Linked DNA regions of Homo sapiens: region 1 is linked to region 2. Evidence: promoter capture Hi-C in human tissues and cell types (Jung and others, 2019). All regions are on one chromosome and are shown on one strand. The core of a region is centred on a gene start or on the middle of the fragment in contact, and the rest is flanking DNA. Distances in the headings are between cores, read along the strand shown. Region 1 has its middle 36 kb from the start of SLC25A52. Region 2 holds the start of B4GALT6 (beta-1,4-galactosyltransferase 6).

Region 1 (6,182 bases), core at 2,755-5,254, 39 kb before region 2:
TAATGGTATGTAGAAAACTGTCTTAGAAACTTCTGCTTATATGTTACAAACTTCTCCATATATTGAAATACACGTATATTTAATAAATCAGAAGATATAGTAGGGTTATTTGGCTTCATGCTTTTTCATATACCAAGTTGTGTGACCAGAAGTGATAGTTTGTCTCCAGAACTGCGTTTTGGATCCATCCTTCTGGTTACGTTGTGGATGAATGCAGAGGGAGGAAAGACTGGAGACAGGAAGAAGAGTTAAGAAATCAGGAAATGATTGAAATAGTGCAGGTAAGAGGTGTCTAGGGTCCGATCTAGGACAGGATAATTTGACATTTTAGGTAGAAAAATTGGACAGGATTGAAGAATTTGACATGAAGGCAAGGAAGGAGAATAGCATAGAACCCAGTGCCTGGTTGACTAAGTGGGTGATAGTGAATGAAGGAACAATTTTGGGGGAATGACAGTGATTTCACTTTTAGACACATGGAGTTTGTTGTTTTGTTCTGTTTTTTAGAGACAAAATTCCAGCCTGTAGCCGAGGCTGGAGTGCAGAGACACATTGAGTTTGATACTCCCAGGGATACCCATATTGGAAGCTCCAGCAAGCCTGGAGTCCAGTGTCACCAGCATGCAAGTGACCACTGAACCAGGGGAATGCAACAACCATCACTGACAGTTTGTAGAGGACACAACATCTAGGAAAGAACTTTGATGAACAACAATGGTCAGAGGGAAGGGTATTAGCAATGAGAGTTTATGTTCTGGAAAATCAAAGGGCATGTCATTAACTTGATTTACAGAGCACCATAACCCCAATATCTCTGCTCCTGGCTACTTAATACCATTCAATGATGATTATTAGAAACACTTACAATGAACATAAAATAGGCTGCTTCTTCCTCCTTTAAATCATTACTAAAATATATCCTATGTAATAATCTGCAAAGAATTTAACATCATTTAAAACAGGATTAAATAAGCTCTTTGGTTATCTTTTAGAGGAGACTTAAAAGTTATAAATATTTGCATTGACTTAAAATTTTTTAATTGCAAAACAGTCCACTTATTTTAGTCAATTTCATATTGTTTTAGTCAACCCTACTAATACTGTCAGACTTTTCCTGTTTTTGAAATTGTCAGTAATATGTCAGAATTTTTTTTTTTTTTTTTTTTGAGACGGAGTCTCGCTCTGTCGCCCAGGCTGGAGTGCAGTGGTGCGATCTCGCTCACTGCAACCTCCGCCTCCCGGGTTCACGCCATTCTCCTGCCTCAGCCTCCCGAGTAGCTGGGACTACAGACGCCCGCCAACATGCCCGGCTGATTTTTTGTATTTTTAGTAGAGATGGGGTTTCACCGTGTTAGCCAGGATGGTCTCAATCTCCTGACCTCGTGATCCGCCCATCTCGGCCTCCCAAAGTGCTGGGATTACAGGCGTGAGCCACCACGCCCGGCCATATGTCAGAATTTTTGATCAGCAAAAAACCAATGCATCTTAATTAAAAAAAATAAATTAGAAGCAGGGCTGCGAGGACATATTCCAAGGAAGCCAGAGCTGGAGTTGGGGCCAGCTGGGCCGGTGACATGGAGCCCCTGAACCAGCAAACGCACAAGCAGGTCCATGAGATACATTCTCACATGGGACACCTGGAGACGGCAGACAAGCAGTCTGTGCACTTAGTAGAAGGTGAAATCCAAGCAAGCACAGACCAGATATTCAGCCATCTAGAACATCGGGAGATTTTGTCCAGCAAGGAGCCCCCTAATAAAAGGCAGAATGCCAAACTTCGGGTTGACCAGTTTAAGTATGATGTTCAGCACCTGCAGACTGCTCTCAGAAACTTCCAGCACTGGTGCTATGCAAGGGAGCAGCAGGAGGGACAGCAAGAAGAGCTTCTATCTCGAACCTTCACCACTAACAATTCTCAATCACAATCCTCTGACAACTATTGGAGATTATTATCTGTTTAAATTACCGGCATTACAATATCTCGACATGGAAACAACACAAGTCCCACTAACAACAATTGAGAACATCCCCATGATGACTCTTGAATTGGAAAAACTAGCTGTCAGCTTCTCAGTCTGCACAATTAATCAAGAAATAATGTGGAGCCACTGGTACAAATAATGAGGCATCTCCCAGAAGTTTAACTTCCTATCCATCCAATCTCTTGGACAGATAATACCAGTTAATTACTTTGAATGTGGCTCTAAAAGCTGAGTTGGGGGCTGCTTTATGACTGGAGATGGTTTGACCTTCTCAGGTGGCTCTGATGGCTGAGCTGGTATCTCCTGCTGCAGTGGAGGACTGACCTCTTCAGTGGACTTCGGAGGATGACCTGAGGCTTCCTGCTGGGTTGCAGATGGTTCAACCTCCTTAGGGGGCTCTGGTGGCTCATCTGGGAACTCTGCTGGACTGGAGAAGGTTCTACCTCCTTAGGGGGGTCTGGAGTCTGAGCTGGGGGCTATAATTGGGTTGAGGAAGAGCCCACCTCTTTGGAGTGTTCTGGAGGCTGAGCTGGGGCCTGTTCCTGGCTTGTTGTAAGTTTCTTACCTGGCTCTGGAGTTACCGTAAGCTCCACGTCCACAGGTTTGATTGTGACACTGGGCAAGTGTGAGTGCTGAACTTCACTCCAACTTTTCAATGGAACATTTACCTCATGATGTATCAATAGTGGGGCTAGGATCTCTTCAAAGGCAGGTAGCTGCTGTGCTGGAGCCTTCTGCTCTGTTGAAGAGTGGACCCCCTCAAGGGACTGTGAAGGCAGAGCTGGGGCCTCCAGCTTTGGTTGAAGAAAGTTCTACCACCTCAGGGAGCTGTGGAAGCTGCGCTGCAGCTTCTTGCTGGAGTAGAGGACTGGATCTCTTCAGTGGTTTCTGGATTTTGAGTTTCAGGCTCTAGATGGAACTGAGAAAGTCCAGCTTGCTCAGGAGGCCCTGGAGGCTCATCTGAGCTCACCTGGAGTTCTGGAGGCAGGCTGCCCAGATACAGTATATCCATACTTGAATCTAAATACCCATTCTGCAGAGTTTGTTTCTGACGCTGAGGTTTTGATACAAATCGGTATGGAGTTCCAACAACAACCTTGGCAAGCCTTTGATGCTGAGCTAGATCTTTCTTCCGGTTCTTGGGCGAAACAGTAAAGTTCCTTGCTTTTGATTTCTATCTAGAGGTGGAACAAGTATTTCATATGCCTGATGATCTGCAGCCTGATCTAGATCTACAGTTAGAAACTTACTTTTGAGGCAAAGAGGCCGAGCTAGGGCCTGGTTCTGATCCCAGTCTAGCATTGCAACCACCTCTGGGAGACTTCTGTGCCGAGTCAGCTTGTCATTCAGATCCCAGTGTGCAGCAGCGAACTGCTCTGGCCCCGGGGCAGCTCTCCAGCTGAATCCGTGTCCAAGAATGGAACCAAACTCTGAGCCAAAGTCTCAGTCGATTCCTGAAGCGGAGCTGACGTCTGGGAGGAAGCAGAAGACCCCAGGTAATCAAAGCTCTCCCGGGTCTGCCCGGGGGTGGGGAGTTAGCTCATGGCGGCGATTCGCGTGGGAGATCGGAGGAGCGGGAAGACCAGGGCTAAGTTGGCCCCAGGGAGTCAGAGGTCAGCTGGAGCGGGTCCTGGACCCACTCCAGAGGCTAAGCCGCCTGGACTAGTAGCCACAATAGTTGCCATGTGAGGAGGGGCCCGTGGGGCCCAGAGACGCAGCCGGGACAAGACAAGCGCTGGCGCCGCGCACTGAGCAGGAGCCATTAGGGCAGCCCCGAGACGCTGGCGCCCCTGGCAACCGCGCGCCCCATCCCGTCCTTTATTAACTACACCTTTATTTACGCAGCCTTTATTAGGCTCGGGTCCAGATCCGCTCCGCGTCACCAGGGCAATCTTATCCCACAATCCAGCCCAAACCTCCCTTCCGCCCTGCCCGGCCGGAACACCCCTCCCCTCCCCTCTGCGAGGAAGAATTTGGGCCGCGGGGTCTGCGGTCCCAAGACTCCAGCAGCCTGGTGGGGTGGGGTGGGGTGGGGTGGGTTGGAGGTGCGGCAGAGCTTCCCAAGGAAGTTATGGGACCTTGCCTCGGGATATTCAGAAGTGCCAGTCCAGTTCTGGCAGCCTGAACTCTTCCTCCTCCAAGCTGAAATCCGAGAGATGCTTTTCCTCCTCTTGGCCATAGGGAAAGCAACTGACCTGCAAAATGTGCGCCAGTTAGGGTGGCAGGCAGAGCACACATTACGGTCATTTATTCCAAAATGTTGCCATTTTCGCCAAACCTTTGATATCCTTTGTTGCATGTTTGGTAATTAATTCACCACCCTATTAGGCAGGGGCTGCCGGGGAATAAACGAGGACTCCAAATTTTCTGTAGGAGGGGTTTTGGGGGGTGAGCAATTCAGTCTGGGAGAGAGAAGGCCTTTAATCCTAGTGAATAGCTCTTTGCACTAGCCTGGGAGGAAGCTGAACTGTCATCCTGCCTTGACTTAACACAGCCTTTACCCTAGAAGCTACAGCGCCACTCTTCAGAGGTCTACCCTGTGTGCACACAGGGAGAAGACGCTTAGGTTGTTAAAGTCAGCATGTTAAATAATTTTCTGAAATGCGACTATAACTAGAACCCAGCTGACTTCCCCCATAGCCATTCTTACCTATCTTATTACTGATTGTCTGGTACAATCACAAAGTGCGGTGGTACTGACACCTACCTTTTAGGGTTGTTTGAGGATTTCATGGGATAATGAATGTAGACTGCTTTGCAAACAGTGAGCTTTCAATAAAAGGGATCTATTATAAAACAATAATTAAAAAAGAAATTAGAAGCCAATAAGAAAAACATTAACATTGTGTGATGGTGGAAATATGTATGCTATATTGCTAAATTATATGTTTAAATTTCAAAAAATTAAATAGTTCAAAAATGTAGTTTTCATATTTCATTATTCAGCTGCAGCCTGCAGTGAAAACATGTCTTTTCTGTACATTTTGAGTATGCCAAGATTTAAAATCCAACCTCATGATTAGTATGTAATTCATTTATATGTCAGAGGCTACACTCATAAACGTGAATAATCATTCCCAACTTCCTTTTCTAGCTGATATTTTTTGACCCAAATTGAGTAATAAAGAGGTCTTGGTATTTCATTAGTGATTGAAGACCTCAAATTCTCTTTTATTGTGTGTGATTCTGCCACTAAGAACGGGATCATAGTAGCGCTGTGGTTTATTCAAGTTCTGATTCTTCCCACCGTGATAGCCACTGACTGCCAACATTACCGGAACCACTGTTGCCAGATGAAATGAAGGCAAGTAGGCAGAGGAAAACCATCCTGTGAGCACCCACTTCAGGCCTGTGCTCCTAGGCTAAGCTGAGCCTGCTGATGAGGGAGTCACAGAGACGTTCATCTCAAGCACTTCTCAAAGCCGCCTCTAGGGGGCAGAACAATCACAAACCTGAGAGCACTACTGAGGAAGACTCATTGTAATGTGAGCAGCCACCCAGGATTCTGCATCCTTTCCTTATAAATGTTATGTGGTGTGCCTTTTAATTCCACTCACAATTGATTTGTTTTCATGATATATGGTACCAAGCTCTAAAGTTACAAAAATATATTCTTATTCTCCAGAATCAATATTACCCAATATTACCAATTCCTTATGTATTCTTCCAGAGAATACGTGTGTATGTGTGTGTGTGTTGTGTATACAATACCCTTGCTCCTTCCTCCTTCTATATGAATGGTAGTATCCATATACTCAATTCTGTATCTTGGTTTCACTTAATATTATCTTGGATGAGATTCTATAAAAGAATACAGGAAGCTTTTTTTTGTTTATGGTTGCAAATTATTCTAGCTATGTGTATACCATAATTTTTAAATACTTCAGTAAAGGGCATTTAATTATTTCTTCAGTACTACAGAATCTTGTGTATGCATAATTTCACTTATGCATGAGTACATCTGAGGGTGGAATTCCTAGTGTAGAATTCCTAGTTCGAAGGGTATGTGAGTTTGCAACTTGATAGATACTGCCAAGTGTATCAATCAGGGCTCTCCAGAGAAACAGAACCCACATACACACATACACACACACACACATACACACACAGAGAGAGAGAGAGAGAGAGAAAGAAAGAGAATTGGCTTACACAATTGTGAGGGATGATAAATCTGAAATCTGTAAGGCAGGATGCCAAGTT
Region 2 (6,691 bases), core at 1,453-3,952:
CGAATGGTGCTTACCATGTACCAGCCTCTCCCATGCTCTTTACAGGCATTAATTCATTTAATTTAATCCTCACAACAATGGCTGCACCGACTAGGCTTGTTTTCTGGTACAACAGATAAAAGTCTACTCCTGGGGAGAGCTAATCAGTCTTAACAAGTACCGTGGGGGACACTTGCCGAACAAGAGAAATCAAGAGATAGGGTTAAAATTAGGGGAGAAACCGATGGCAGTCATCTATGCCAGCTAGGTTCATCTGTACAGTCTTCAGATTTCTTATAGATGAATCATCAAATTCTATAATGTTACTACTTCTCTCTCAGTTTATAGTAAACTTTCCTTTGAAAAAGCCAACCTTGCCTGAGAAGAATGGTCTACCACTAGGTCAGCAAAGGTATGGAACTCTCTTTTGACTAGTGGTATGGTGGTATTAGCTTTGTAAACAACCAGTCTAACTGATGCAAATAAAGATAAATGAACAGTGGGATTGGAGAGGGGAAAATCACAATTTTTGCTTCCTCAGCATTCATGACTTCTTTGGCTTGCATAGATTTTGTTTTTCTTTATTTTACAAATGAGTTTCCTTTTAATGTTGTTCCACTTTGCATTTCAAATTTCCCTTAAGCATCTAAAAATGTTACAAAATAGTGTCATTACCTTTCAAATTAAACATCAAATTAGCCAGAGAAGTTGAGTTGTGAGTACTCCAACAAGCAAAATATTAAAAAATGAATTTCAACTTGGTGATCCCACCTAGTGAACTAATGGGATATAAGGAACCTCTTACGTCCCAGACACCATGCTTAGCATTATGCACAGTTATCCATTTAATCTCACAGCCTTGCAAGGGGGTATTATATCCACTGTTTGAGGGCGGAGAAAACAGGCTCACACAAAGTAGTAGCTTCCAGGGGTCTCACAGTTAATATTAATGAAAGGCTTGGGCTTATACATAGGTGTTTCAGGTTCCACATTGCAAAGCATTATCTCAGGGACGATCTATGGCATGCGCATCCCGATAAAAACGTACCAAATTTATTGGCTATCAACTACAGTTCCATCTGGAAATACTCAGCAAATAATGGCAGTAAGGCATCCCGCCACTTCCTGCATGATTAGTTGAAAAAGAAACACCTGCGCACACACATTTGAACAATGTGATACAGCTAAGGACCTGGACAGTCAGCTAGCAGGAAGAAACATTTGAACGAAGGGTAGACCACGGCCTAGGAGGTGGATGAAGACACCCGTCCGTTTGCCTACTGAAGCAAGATGGGGCTGAGGCGCTCAAGGGCCTATTGGCTGCCCAGAAGCCTTTGCAGCGCCGCCTGAATACAGCGAGGATGACCCAGGGTTCACCTTCAGCGTTGAAGGCAAGTCCTGGTATAAGGGACGCACATAGGTCCGCGCCACATCCTGACACTGTTTCCACAGGAAGTGCGGGATAGGAGGGGGGATTCATTAATCCAGGTCGGAAATACACCTTGTTCCTCGAGGATTTTGGAAGGAAATTCCACCCGCGAAGTCCCCTTTTGGAGATGCCCTTTTCCTTTCAGGTACAGCATCCTTCATTATGTACCCCCAGGGTACAATGTATCCGGGGCTCGCAACGCGTCCCTCAACCCCCAGCAGCGCGGTCACCGCGGGGTCCCCGGGCGGGCGGGGGCGGCGGTGACGCAGGAGGCGGTGGGGCCCCGGTGCGGCGGGCGCGGGGAGGGGGCTGCTGGGCGCGGGCCTATCAGGACGCGCGGTGTTTCGGGCGCGGGGAGGGCGGGGACCTCCAGGTTTCCTCGGGGCCCGGCGCAGCGCCGCCTGCCGAGTTCCGAGCGAGCGCGCGAAGCGCGCAGGGGTCTCGAGACGTTCCCGCCGGTCCCGGTTTTCCTCCGCGGCTCCCCCGCCCCTTCACGTCCGCCTCTTTCTCCAACCAGACGCGGCTCCGACGGCGCTCGGCCTCTGCTCTTCCGGCTCCCCGGCTCTGCCCGCAGCGCGCGTCGCCCGGTTGCTCTTCGCCTGGTGTCCGCGGGCCCGGCGGGGGCGCCTCACCCCGGGCGCGCGGCGGTAATGCCGCTGCCGCCCTTGCGGCCAGGCAGGCAGCTGGCGGCGGCCGGAGTCGGAGCGCGTTCGTCGCTGGCCGGGACGCCGCCCTGGCCTGTGCTCAGCTCCCGCGGCGGCCGCGGGGCGCCGGGGCCCGGCGCGGCATGAGGAGGCGGCTCGGTGCAGGCGAGCGCCCAGCTCCTCGGCCCCGAGGGCCCCCGCGGGCCCCCGCGCGTGGCGCGCGCTGGTTGCGGCCCCGGCGCCCACGCTAGCCCCGCGCAGGCAGGAGACGCCGCGGCCCGGAGTAGGAGGCGGCGCAGGGCCTGCCGAGCGGACGCGGGCGGCCCGGACCTTAAGCACGGGGCTTCGCGGCGGGACCCCGCCGGGCGCGGGCAGCGGAGCCGGGCGTGCTGCAGTTAGCTGCCCCTCTCCGCAGGGGCGCCGCGGCGCGCAGCCTGCGCCTCCTCCCACCTGCAGCCCCTCCTCCCGCCGCTGCTTGGCGGAGAAAACGCTCCTCCTCGCCCTTCCCCGGCTTTCTTCCGTCCTGCCGTCCCCGGGCCCCTAGCCCCCAGTCCCCTCTCCCCCCTCCACCTCTTGTCCCTCGGCCTCCGCGCCTCCCCTCCCCCGACTCTCTGGCCTCCCATTCATTCCGTCCGCTCCCTCCCATTTCCTCTTTTCCGCTCGGGCCCTCTCCCCAGAGCCTCCCCGCGCGGACCCCGCTGCAGTCTCGGGGTTCTCAGCACATTTATGGAAGTTTAGGGCCTGGACAGTGGCCCCGAGTCCGGCCTGAGAGCGCAGCCTGGGCTGCTGGCAGGGAAGAGGAAGATGTCTGTGCTCAGGCGGATGATGCGGGTTTCCAATCGCTCTCTCCTCGCCTTCATCTTCTTCTTCTCCCTCTCTTCGTCCTGTCTGTACTTCATCTATGTGGCCCCAGGCATCGGTAAGCACCGAGACACACCCTCGCTTCCCCTGGTCACACCACAGCCAGCGCAGGCTGTTATCCGATGTTACTTCTGGGATTTGGAAGCTGTTCAAACAGGGGCCCGCAGAAAAGCGTTTTGTTTTAAATGTTATTTCAGACGTGTCAAACTGCTTCAGGGCATGGCTTTGGTATGTGAGTTTTGTTAATGCATGCATTTTGTTAATGCATGTTTGTTAATAACGTAAAAGATTGCATTAAATAGACGTAGCAAAATTAGTGTGATGGCCCGGGATGCCCTAGTCGCTTTCTTGAGTGTTCATGACAGCTTTATCCATTTAATGTTAAGTCTTTAAGCCTAAACTGAGTGCTTAATCGTAGTTTTATTCAAACACTCTCGGGTATAATAACTGGTTGTAAAAATATGGAGGAGCCAGCAGCAGGGAATGTGATTGAGTCCAACAATGTGTGTTTTCTAGGGTCCTAGGTCGCTTTTTTAGAATGGGGTCAGTGGACCCCATTCTTTTTGTGCCATACTTGGGGAATTTTAAGGCGATGAGTTGTCTTGTAAAAACAATGCTCCATTATTTTAGTCTGCTTGGGTGTTATTTTCAAGGGTACGTTGCCTTTGCTACCTGTTAGGATGACTTCTGAGAAAATAGTGATTAAAATAACCGTTATCTAAGGGAACTTGTAGTTTAAAATGTTAACCGGTTTATCATTTTTTGGCCTTTGGTGCAAAATACACTTTTGTAAAACTGCTTGAATTAACTTCTTTATTAAATATCCGAATTCCTCGTCCCCCATTTGTTGAAAAGGAGCCAATGCGGCGTTAATTCTAGTGAATGAGAATTATGAACTTCACATGCATATTAAAATATGTCATATTTCCAAAACTTTTCTGAGTTTTTCCTGGCTATTACGTATTTAATGTTCAATTACTTAGTAACAGTGAGCATCTCCTCTCATTTCTCCTTACACACTGTGGTCGTTTGAGCCAGTGCTCTTTGTTCCGAGTTAGCTAAAAATGTAATGCCCCTTACAGAGTGAAAACACCTGCAGAATTTTCAGATGGAATGATCAGGGCATTGTCTTGAGTGTAGTAGATTATTGCAGTGAATTGCAGCAGGGAAGGAAGATGGAAACCTAATCCAGACTGCTTCATTTCTTAAAATTACTATGAGACTTTTTCTTTAATAATTAATTTTTGGATTCAGTGAGGTGTATAAACTCAGATGATGATGTTTAAGAAGAAATGCATTGTGAAACGTTGACGTATCCCAAAATAGAAGTTTTAGGGTAAAGTTTGAAGAATATTTTAACATTATTGCAGTTTTCCTTTAGGCCAGAAAAAACAAAAAACCTCACAAAAACCTACCCCTTGAAGCCTATAGTACAAATGACAGTGGTAGCTTAGTGGATTTGATATTATCTAGATACTCAACAAGAGCTTTCTTTATTTTTTGCCATTTTGGAGTCTTATAAATTAACTCTTCATTCTATAGCAATTTTTACTTTCTCATGTAACTCTTTAAAAGTTTGGACATCTTTGGGGTATGTTTTTTTACTAGGAATTTAACTTTGAAAGATTTTGGAGAAAGTTTTTTTCACACTTACATAACAATTTTCCCACTTTCTTAGTATTATGAGTAACATGTTAAAGTTATATTACTCAAAAAGCTAACCAAAGGAAATCAGAATTCTAGTCATCCCTTTTTTTTTAAAGTTAGTGCGTCAGTATATTATTTGTAGATTCTTAATTCAACTTGTGTGAAACACTAATAAATTTTCCTTATTTGAATGCTTAATGTTTGCCATAGAACGGTCACTGATATAATGTAAAAATGTTGGCACGTGTCTTGTAGGCAATTAGATTGATGTGGCTTAACCTACTCTGTTTTTGTAGGTCTTATAAATGATAATAAGTTATTAAAACCAGTTAGAAGAGTGCAAACCAAAAACTTACAAAATGCTGTGAAATTGTCAAGCTGAATCTGTTTCCAAAACCCTGTACCATTTAGCCAAAAAAAGCCTCCTTTTTAATCTTTTGTATCTTTAAGTATTGGGAAGCAGTTTTCCAAAATTCAGATTTTCGCTTGAAAGTTTGAATTTTATCATTGGCAACAAATACTGTCAGTTTTTCTTGAAGTGTCAGGCTCACTTTGCTCATTTTCGAGAAAATGTAGGTCAGATGCACAAGTTTAACCATAGTTTTTCAGTTGTTCTTTCAAGTAAAAATGATGTTCCATGAAAAATGTGGCTTGTTGAGTCCATACTGCAGCAATCAATCAATTGCACAAGTGCTTCAGATTTCTTATTTATGAGACATATCCAGAAGTAATTAGGTTCTTATAACTAGTTTTTATTCGATGTATGTGGATTTTTCTTGAAATAATAACTTCAAGAAAATAATTCATATTTTAGCCTGAATTACATCTTGGGGCAAAATGTGTTTATGACTAAAATGTATGTTGTAAGTACTTTTTATGTGCCCTAAAAAGCGTTTCAAATCTCCTCTGTTAAGAAATTCCTATTAATCCTACCATATCAACCTGTTTGGTAAACTTTAATTCTCTTTCCCTACTTGTTTTCTGTCCTGAGCCCTGTGTATGTCATGGGCTTTCTTCCCAGGTAGATCTTCTGTCATTTTAGTTCCTCTTCTTTGCCATCTTGAGCAGATACATCACACAGTTGTAGGCAGCGTAATCTGTTTAGTTTCCAGTGTTTTCAGATGTTCCTCTGAAATAGTCTATTTCTGGACTATTTGGGTCAACTACAGTGAGTTCCATAGAACTCAAAGCTCATTATTTTCAAGGAACCATTTTTCTTGAAGTGTCTAATGCATACAGGAAACACAGGGATAGTCTTTACATTATAAACCTTAGTACTCAGGGAAACTGGATGGCAGACACCTGCCCCATCACCACACCATAGGAAGTCCATGGACAGATTGCTGTAGCCCACCCCTAGAGGCCAGAGCCATAAATTATTTCTTATTCTGTGTCTACCTTTGTGCATGATTGCAAAGATGAGTGCAGTTTCTCTCCAAGGTTTTGACTTGGCTGGATTGAGAACAGAATTGCATTTAATAGGAAACCTTTATTAATATAACTTCCAATATAACGTAGTCATTTTCTTGCTGTCATATCAAAGATGAGCTGACTTACAAGTTCATTCAACAATAGGAGTTGTGCACCCAAGAGAGGCTGGACATTGAGGTATGGAAGATAGATGACTAAGGCTCATTTTCTTCCGTCATAGTACAATGGGCTGAGCCCCATAAAACTGCTGTAGTAAATCCTTGGAAGGCATGTGGTGGGAAGTGAGGGCTGGTTAAGGATTTCCAGAGGAGAAAGTGGTTGAAATGTAATGGATGAGATTTATCTGGACTGAGCAAAGGGATCCTAGTCAGAGGGAACAGCATGAGCAAAGCTTCTAGAAAATGGGAGTAGCTCCATCCAGCTACTGCTTAGGGCTTGGAGTGGCACATGGGCCAGGTTTTGAAAGGTCTCTGGGGCTCCAGTGTCCAGCCATGGTGTTCAGATGCTTGAGGTCTCTAAAATTCCTGGCAGAGAGAGACTGGTCTTTGTTCATACAGCTTTATCAAAGCTTCTGTGATTACAAAATAAATTGATAGTGCCTGTAATCAGTGGGGCTATATAATGGGAGGAGATTACATAACTTCCCTGGGAGTGGGGATTTCACTGTCCATTTGACTCACCAGAAGCCCTGACCTTTCCT

What was found. The method cuts DNA at HindIII sites, captures the fragments that hold promoters and counts their contacts. A contact is called where the count stands out against the background at its distance.
Region 1: a contact is called between a fragment that was not itself captured here and the fragment with the promoter of B4GALT6 in region 2, in 3 of the 25 tissues and cell types used here (adrenal gland, hippocampus and liver).

Annotation. Positions count from the first base shown.
Region 1 is chr18:31,721,790-31,727,971 of GRCh38, reverse strand. It overlaps a transcript of B4GALT6 not described here, the pseudogene LRRC37A7P and the pseudogene LOC390846. Among named protein-coding and RNA genes, the nearest start is that of SLC25A52, 36 kb to the left of the region's middle. RefSeq lists enhancers at 3,055-3,554, 3,521-3,620, 2,850-4,049. The HindIII fragment of the contact is 7,678 bases long and covers 166-6,182 here.
Region 2 is chr18:31,680,592-31,687,282 of GRCh38, reverse strand. B4GALT6 (beta-1,4-galactosyltransferase 6) reads left to right here and starts at 2,702. Exons shown (of 9, transcript NM_004775.5): 1 at 2,702-2,971. The coding sequence starts at 2,857. RefSeq lists a silencer at 1,566-2,605 and an enhancer at 5,802-6,011. The HindIII fragment of the contact is 7,513 bases long and covers 982-6,691 here.